Regions from separate parts of the Homo sapiens genome. Here region 1 is linked to region 2. The links are contacts of gene promoters, found by promoter capture Hi-C in human tissues and cell types (Jung and others, 2019). All regions are on one chromosome and are shown on one strand. The core of a region is centred on a gene start or on the middle of the fragment in contact, and the rest is flanking DNA. Distances in the headings are between cores, read along the strand shown. Region 1 overlaps ST6GALNAC3 (ST6 N-acetylgalactosaminide alpha-2,6-sialyltransferase 3). Region 2 holds the start of ST6GALNAC3 (ST6 N-acetylgalactosaminide alpha-2,6-sialyltransferase 3).

Region 1 (4,523 bases), core at 408-2,907, 200 kb before region 2:
TTTAATGTTATTTTTTCCTCAGGCCTTCTAAGAGAGAAAATTTGCAAACTCAAGAAAAAAATCTATATCGATTTCAAGGTAATATCTCAGGGCAATAATATCTTCAGTTAAAGGAGAAAAAAGCTTGAATTAAGGTGTCGGCACAAAAATATCAGTTAGTGGCTCTGCTACTTACTATCCATGAGGCTTTAAACAAGTTATTAAACCTCCTTTGCTTCAGCTTACCAATCTGCAAAACGAGATAGTAATAGTAAGTACTCAAAAGACTATGATGATATTGAAGAGTTAAATTTATAAAGCTCTTAGAACAGTGCATGGCATAAAGTGAGCATAATATAAATGTTTGACAGATAAATAAATGCATAGTTGGGTGGAGGGAAGTAAGGTGATATTCAGTGAGCATCTACTCTATTTTAGGAGATTTCATGTATTATCTCATTTGCCTTGATGATCAATTTGTAAATGAATATTATTTATTGACCTCATTTTATAGAAAAGAAAAGGTTCAAGTAGAATAAAGTGACTTGCCCAAGTTTGCATGCTAGTAAATGACGAATCTGAGATTTGTAAAGAGGTCTGAATCCAAATCTTTGTAGCATACCATGCACATAACATTATTTAATTCTAAATTCTATGCCCATTATTTCATTTAATTCTTACAAGAATCCTTTCTGATAAGTAAGTAGCACCAGCCCTTGTCTCTACCCATAGTGCATCCAACTCAATCTTCTGTCTCTGGTGGCAGCAATAGGTATGTGTAACAGAAGGTCACAGTGCTCACCCCAGCTGAAATAGGTATGAATTTAGCTTCCCTAGCGGCACATTAGGTATTCATTTACCAAAAATGATAAATGCTGAAAGTACTATGCAAGAAATATAATCCATCTACCCGAACTGGAAAGGACTAGTAGTTAGTTCTAGGAAGAAAAGAGAGACATTGGAGAGTAACAGTCACCAGAATTTCTGTACTCCATTATCAACATATTTTTGAGAATATACCCCAAATATATTCAAACAAAAAGTAAGCAGTAACAACTGATGAACTAAAATAAATAGGATTTCTGAAACTGTCTCCATCTTTCCACTTAGGCAATCACTAATTCAGAACATAGCAAAGGGTGGGTTGGAAAAAAGGGCGACTGGAAGAGAGGACAGAACAGGGAGAATGAAGTGAAGCAGAGAAAGAAGCAAGAGAGAAAAGGCGAAGGAGAAGTGGAGGGAGAAGGAAAGAACAAATAAGAGAACGAAAAATGAGAAAAGGGGCAATGGCAAAAGAGAAAGGGCAAGATGAGAGAAAAGACAGGAGAGAGACAGGAGAGAGAACCAATGGTTAGCAAGCACCCCACTTTCTCCCGAACTCTTTATAATAGGAAAACACAAACACAGAACTCCTCCAGTCGAGTAACCTATATCTGTGCGCTGTTTCTCAAGTTGCATCTATAAAGAGGATCTCTACTAAGTTTTAACTTTCTTCCTAATTCTTCATATTTCTTTTGTGAATTCTGAGGAGACTCCAGCAAGGCTCCTGAGGTCCAGTGTGCCTGGTATAGGAGTCACAGTTGTGCTCTGGCTCTAAAACCTGAGGAGCCCTCCTGACGAAGTGGCTACCATGGACGCCACTTCCGCCTCCGGCAGCTGCCGGCAGACACGACTCCAGGCACTGCAGCTCTGAACCAGCTCAAGTGCTGCACTCACGTGATTATGGCCACTACTGCCTCTGACAAGCCATCAAGAATACTAACCACCCTTTCCCACAAAGGCTCCTCTTTCCCGTTTCTTCTGTAACAACATTCCCCCCACCCGCGAAGCTCTGGAGGCCTGTTGGCTAGCACAGGTTGATTGATAATAACTGTGTCTTCCAGCAAAAGATTCCACCCCTGAGGATCACAGATGGCGAATGACTTGCGGTAATTTTCTTACCAAAGAACACGGGGCTCAGGCATCTAAGCCATATTCAGCAGAGAATCCTTTCCAGTCAGATCCACAGAGGAGGCTTTTCGCAGCCATAAGCTTTCACTTGAGTTGTTATCAAAGTTTTCCATCACTGACTGTTTAAGAAAACATTAAAATGACTCCACACAGACTGCTGCTCTACAATTTCAGTTCCCCTGCCTGGCTGTGTGTGTCCAAATGCAGTCTAGGGGAAGCATGTTGGTGCTGTCTGCTGTCTGTTTCCTCAGGTGTGCAAAATCTCCTCCCTGGGAGCCAAGTGGCCCCCTCAGCCAGCAACAGTGACAAGAAGAGATGGATAAAGTTGTATCAAATGTCTGCTGACCTTAGTGAGGGGAGACAGAGCCACATAATTGTCTACAGAAAGGATTATCCATTCCGGTCATTGTACTCAAATGCTTAGAAAATTGTGAACATTCTTCTTGCCCGAGGGAAAGTACTACGCGATGAACAGAACTATTTTGGTGTGAAATCCACCTGATTTTAAATCCTGGCTTTACCATAAACACATTCGCTCTGTGACTTTGAGTAAATTACTTGGCTTTCCTAAACCTTGGTTTCCCTTGTCATGAAAATAGGACAAATAACACCTAACTTCGAACGTTGTGGTGAGGATTAAATAAGATTATGTAGGTGTGGCAGGCAAATTTACTAAAATTACTTTCAAATTGCAACATTTTCTGTTTATTTTTCTTTTCTTCTCCGTTCAAGCAGATAGACAAACTCTTTCATTCTCTGCATCAGGGATTTGGTTTCCTCAAAAAGTAGAGGTAACCAGATATCAAAGGCTCTTCTTGAATTCTTTAAACACTGAAATCCATTAAAAAAAAGAATGCCTAGCAGCCTATAATCCCAGTACTTTGGGAGGCCGAGATGGGCGGATCACCAGGTCAGGAGATTGAGACCATCCTGTCTAACACGGTGAAACCCCGTCTCTACTAAAAATACAAAAAATTAGCTGGGCATGGTGGCGGGCCCCTGTAGTCCCAGCTACTCGGGAGGCTGAGGCAGGAGAATGGCGTGAACCCGGGAGGCGGAGCTTGCAGTGAGCCGAGATCGCGCCACTGCACTCCAGCCTGGGATGACAGAGCGAGACTCCATCTCAAAAAAAAAAAAAAAGAATGCCTAGCAATAATGAGAATACATGATACTGAAAGATACCATTTATTATAGTGACGAAAGACAGTGAAGATCTAAATAAGTAGATTTGGATAGAAATATAGATAGAAAGACTCAACATTATAATGTTACAAAGATACCAACTCTTCCCCAAAACTATAAATTTAATGAAATTTCATAAAAATATTAAAAATCTCCAAGATTATTATAAAATTTCTGTAGAAATGCAAAAGGCCAAGAATGACCAAGACATTCCTGAAGAATAAGGTCTAGGCGTGAGAATGTGGGAGGAGACTTGTGTAACCAGACTTAAAGCTCATTGTAAATGTATAGAAGCTAGTGGCAATATGGTACTGACTCAAAGACAACAGACCAAAGGCACACCACAGACAGCCCAGAAATAAATCCAGGCATATGGGGAAATTTGGTAGATGACAGAGATACCATTACAGATTATTGGGAAACGTAAATGATGCTGAGACAATTATTAGCCATATTAAAACACAGATGAAATAAGACTCCTCCTTCACGTTAAGTTAAAGACATATATGTGTATATTCGTGTATATACAGCTACATATGTAGAAATGTGTGTGTGTGTGTGTGTGTGTGTATATATATATATATATATATACACATAAACATATGTGTGTGTGTATATATATATATATATATATATATATATATATATATATACACATAAACATATACATATATGTCTTTAATTGACCTGTTATGAAGGAGGGGGTCTTATTCCATCTATTTTTTGAATATAGAAATTAATTGTTTCCACTTATCTTTTCCCAGTTATCTGTAATGTCATCTACCAAATTTACATATATGCATGGATTCATTTCTGGGCTTTCCATTGTGTCTCATTGGTCTGTCTTTGTGTCAGTACCACACTGCCCAAATATATCAGTACCACATTGCCCAAATATATAAGCCCATATGTAAATACACACACACACATAGGCATACACAAATATATATGAGGTTGGAGTAGAAAATAATTTTAAAAATAAGACAACAAAATATCAACCATAAGGAATAGTTTGATAATTTGACCACCTTATTTTTTTAGTTTATTAAAAGAATTTATCTCAAAAAGTGAAAATGTACATTGCAAATTGGGAGAAGATATTGCAACATGTATAACTGACCCTGGATTAGTAAGCAGAACATACAAGAACTTCTACAAATCCATTAAGAAGGTGAAAACAACACAAAATCAAAATGGGTAAAAATCATAAACAGACATTTCACAAAAGATGAAATAAAAATATCAATTAAAAATGCAAATATTCTCAGCCTAATTGATTTGCCAAAATGGTAAATTGAACTGTAAAGTATAAATTCATACACACCAATTTGACAACTTTTTTAAATGCTGACAAAACCAAGTGTTGGCAAAGATGTGGAAAAACAGGAGTTCTTATATTCTACTTATATTGA
Region 2 (4,780 bases), core at 1,573-4,072:
TTTTCCTTTGTCTTGTCACATTTCCACAATTTATCCTTCTCTATTAAAATGCTTTATAAACTCTCAGGCCTCTCCCCTTCTTCGGGTCTTTATTTCTTATATAGGAAGCCCTCTGTGGTACACATAAAAACATTAACATCAAATAAAATGTGTATGTTTTTCCTCTGTTAATATGCCTTTTGTCAGTTTAGCTATCAGGACCAGGCACAGAAACTAAGAGGGCAGAGGAAAATCTTTCCTTTTCTACATATGCCAACACCAAGTCCAGGGTCAGCAAATGGCAGAAAATATTTCATTAAAAAAAAAAAAGTCCATAGTTTTATCCTCATAAAAACCCTGTAACGCAATGGTTATAATTCTATGAACACTTCAACAAGGGAAAACTGAGGCTCCAGGTTGCAGCAGCTGTCTAAAATCATATGCAAGAAGCCAGGCTTGCACTGAACTCAGGTCTCTGGACTGAAACCTGTATTCTGCACTGCTCCATGTGTAGCTTTTCAAAGACAACAAAGAAAAAAGATCCAGCCCAGACTGTCTAGACCATGACCAGAGAAGGGGATTGCTCAAAGGTGCTCAAAGGTGGTTGGAACTGAATGGTATTAGGCCATCTTAAAAGTCATCACCTGGGAAAGTACTGGAACAGCAGTAAAGTATATGGAAGGTTGACATATCTGGGTCTAAATCCAGGATCACTCTGTCATTAACCCTGTGTGGCCTTGGGCAAATCTCTTAAACTAGGGAGCGTCAACTTTCTCATCTGTAAAATGGGGTTTAAAACAATGATACTTATCTTTCAGGGTTTTATGTAAAGATTAAAGAATAAAAAACATTTTGTATTTTATAAAAAATAATAGTTATAAGAAACAGACTGAGGATATAGTAAGGATCAACCAAACTGCACTTATTATTATATGTTAGAGGAAAAAAATGGCACATATTAAATGCCTGTGCCACAAAGTATTTTTCATACCCTATCTTATTTCATTCCCACAGCAACCTTGTGAAGCAGGTGCCACTACTTTGATCTTATATTGAAGAAACTAAGGCCCAGAGACATTTAAGTAACTTGTCCAACATCACAGAGGTAGCAGTGGGCAGAGCCAGCATCCAGACATATCTTTCTGAGTCTAAAGCCCACATTAGTTTCAGTGGAGGGAAGATAAGGTGGACAGATATGTCCCAAATGTCTGAAAGCAGTGTGAAGTGCTAGAAGAGAAAGATTGGACCAGATTCATGTGTAGTTTGGGATGTGCATTAAAGATGTTTACCACATGTATAGGACAAGGCAGGGGAGAAACCAAAACAGAAAAAGATGGCCAGCAATAAATATCATGCTCCTCAATGTCCCTTTCAGCAAATAACACAATGAATAGTAAAGATGACTCATATTCATATTTCAGTCCTTGTGCTAAGAGCCTCCCGGTCAAATACCCCATACTGTAATACTGATGTATTATTTCCTCATGTCCTGGAAAATGTTCTGAAACAAAAAGAGGAAGTTCAGAAAGCTCACAGGAAACTTCTGATCTCCTTTACGCAAAGAAGGGGAAACAACTTCTACGAGGTTAGTCTCTTATTTTCATCATTGACACCAGGCACGTTAGAAGACGATTCAGGTAACCAGAACACAGTAGATGACTTAATATCATCTTATAGAGAAATAAATGCTACTTCACAATAACACAACAACAACGAATTGTTTCCTGGTATTTTCCATCGTCACACAGTTCCCCCAGGCTTGGACAACTAGGTCTCTGCATTCTCCAGTCAAGGCCCAGGAAACTTTCATGCTGTTCATGTTTTTGATTCATGCATCCAGGTTATGTTCTTGTAGAAAGGTAGTGCAAAAAAAAAAACGAGGGCAGGGGAGGCCTCTACCAGTGGGATGGAAAGTTCTTTTTAAGTGAGGCCCTCACACCAAGTTCTCCCACCTGAGGCCACAAGTCTGTGAACCCAGAAAGATGCTCAGGTGAGGCTAAGAATCCGGTCTTGGAGAAAGAAAACTCAACAAAGAAGGGATGGCTGAGCGCACTCTGGCAGAGCATAAAATCATTTTGTCTATTCAAATTTATGAGCATAAAGAGAGTGAGAGGTTCTCTACTAACATATACATCCTCGTGTGAACTTTTCCAAAGTAGAGCTAAGGGCAAACAGAGCTAGCAGATCTCATAGAAAACTCATTCCTAAGGGACTACCTGTAAACTCAGAAGTTTCTGTCTTCACATGATCAAATGCACAGTAGAGCCCACCTCCGCTCACTCTTCCCTCCATTTAAAGCGCTATGCCCCTCACCACCAGCAACTCACGCCTAGCCACTCCACCCCTCCCCGTGGCCCCTGAAAGGCCTCAGGCTCCACAGAGCCGCGGGACCCGCGGGAACACCCCTCCTCTCCCTACCATCCCCATTATTCGGCACACAGCCCTGCTCTCCCCTGGAGCCAACAGTCTGCAGCTCCTTCAATGCAGGCGCGAGCAGGAGGCAGGAATGGTGGGAAAAGAAGCTGTGCCAGCTGCATGTTTCAGAATCTCCCTCCATATGCATTTGCCAAAGGAACAAAAAGAAAATCAATGCCAGGAAAAGACAACTGAGATGAGGATGCGGTGGGACCGCGGCTGACTCCGTGCCTCTGAGCAGCAAGGGGCTGGCCAACCACGCGTCCGAGCCACAGATCCAAGTCGTTACCTTCAGGATGCAGGCCATGGCGCTCCGCCGGCCCTCCTGCCACCGAGCAGCGGGCGCGCCTGGGTCAGGGGCAGTCCTGGGGGCAGGCTGGAGGCTGGTACCACGGCAGGACCTCTCCAGCCCACATTCCCGCAGATCCAAATAAGGGGACCGCGGTGTAAGCTGCGCCGCCACAGACCCCGCCCCCCGAGCCGCGGCCCCGCCCCCGTCCCCATCCACTGGCCCGCGGCCCGCGCGGCCCCGCCCCCGGGTCACGTGCCGTCCTGGGCGCCGGCGCCGGCGGCTCCTCAGTGCCTGCTACTTCTTTCTCTTGTTTTCTTCTGTGAACCTTTCGCGGCTCGACGTGCGCAGAGTGCGCTCTGCAGCAGGCGGGGACCTGGGTCCCGCGGGGGGCAGAGTACGGCCTTTTCTTCTCGGTTCCGTCTCCTCTCACACATCAGAGAACTCCTTTTTACAGACGTTTCACACTTTGTCAAAGTTGAGTGGGTTTGGCATCGCCCTTCTGGAGACTTTGGGCACATCAAAGGGCTTTTCAAAAGTAGCAACGAAGTTCTCCCTGGGCTGTTCAAGGATTGAGCCTTCACTCTGTGATGGGCTTATCTAAAATTAATAATTTACCGCTAATAAGTGAGCACAAATATCAACGAAAGAAAGACGTCATGAACCTTACACTCTGTATGGTATATTTTGTGTGTGTGTACATATTTTACATATACATGTATGTGTGTATAATATATAAATTATTGCCTTTTCCTGGTACAAGCTTGTTTATGAAATTGTATATGCATGATATACAGTATACAGATACAGGATGCACACATGTGTATATTGTATTATATATGTACATGTTGATTGTACAGTATATGTTTATAAACTGTGTATGTGTACATGATAGGACTTTGCTCTTCCCTGCTCCAAGCAAGAGCCGGCTAAGAGAAGCAGTTATTTCTACAAGGAGAGTAAACGCATTGCAGAAGGGAGAGAGCATTCCGTGTACACACACAGATTTTTACCACTTGGTCTGTCAGAAAAATTTTAAAAGCGGCCCCCAAATATCTACCCAAAAGAAGTTTCACTTGCTAGAAGCTCCGTCTAGTTTGCCTCCATGGAATCAGGAAAAGCACTGTGGGCTGGTGGTGTCATGAGATTGGCTCACAAACCACAAGGCAGAATCCAGGCTTTCAAGGAATTTGGTATTTTCTTGATGAGAACATGCAGAATTCTTAGAGAGCAGGAGTAACCACAGGAAGGAGGTTGCAGAAGCTGAGCCTGTGGATGAACTGCCTGTCCCATGGGAAGCTCCTGTCTTCAGTCTCCCTGGAATACCACACCCTGCTCTTCGACTTCTTCCTCCCGCCCCTCCCTCCTCTGCCTTACAGATCCGGTGTGTTTTTAGTAAGAATTCTTTGTTTGGGACTATATACTTTAAACCGCTGCTTTAGCTCATGGTCCTTCATAGGCCAGGAAAATTCAGTATTTCATTCATTTACTCATCCCTTGATTGATTCCACAAACTTTTTTATTGAGCCACTACTAAATGGAAGAATAAACTTTATTCACCTTCCACTAAGTGGAGGAAAAATCTTTATTGAAGACCTTTCAGGGATAGGAGAATGACTTTCAGAATATCTAACATCAAGGTGGGCTCACAGTTAAGTGAGAAAGACAAGAATAAGAGATACATGATACTATAACATGGAAAGGGCCTTAGCCAAATTGGAAGCAAAGATCTCAGGAAGGAGAAAGAGAAACACCTGACCGTCCCCCAGCCCGACACCCGTAAAGGGTCTGTGCTGAGGAATATTAGTAAAAAAGGAAGGCCTCTTGCGGTTAAGAGGAAGGCCTCCGTCTCCTGCATGTCCCTGGCAGAACAGCAGAGCAAAGGGGTGAGGGTGGGCAGAGCACATCGTTCTCTCTAGAAAGTCTGTACATCTGGAAAGAGAAACAGCAGGCCCTAGTGAACAGCCCTGCTAAGTACTTCCCTGCTGGGTGTCCTTGATCAAGTTTCTTAACCTCTCTTTAATCCTTACCTTATCTAATATTATCTATCCTCAAGAGAATTAAATGAGATAATAATGTTTGCAAATTGCATTTACC

Evidence for each region. Contacts are between HindIII fragments. The study calls those that stand out against the background at their distance.
Region 1: a contact is called between a fragment that was not itself captured here and the fragment with the promoter of ST6GALNAC3 in region 2, in 1 of the 25 tissues and cell types used here (heart right ventricle).

Annotation. Positions count from the first base shown.
Region 1 is chr1:76,276,770-76,281,292 of GRCh38, reverse strand. All of the region lies in intron 1 of ST6GALNAC3 (ST6 N-acetylgalactosaminide alpha-2,6-sialyltransferase 3), which reads right to left. Among named protein-coding and RNA genes, the nearest start is that of ST6GALNAC3, 200 kb to the right of the region's middle. RefSeq lists an enhancer at 1,270-1,769. The HindIII fragment of the contact is 4,115 bases long and covers 1-3,714 here.
Region 2 is chr1:76,072,788-76,077,567 of GRCh38, reverse strand. ST6GALNAC3 (ST6 N-acetylgalactosaminide alpha-2,6-sialyltransferase 3) reads right to left here and starts at 2,822. Exons shown (of 5, transcript NM_152996.4): 1 at 2,684-2,822. The coding sequence starts at 2,701. RefSeq lists a silencer at 2,822-3,021. The HindIII fragment of the contact is 7,284 bases long and covers 1-4,337 here.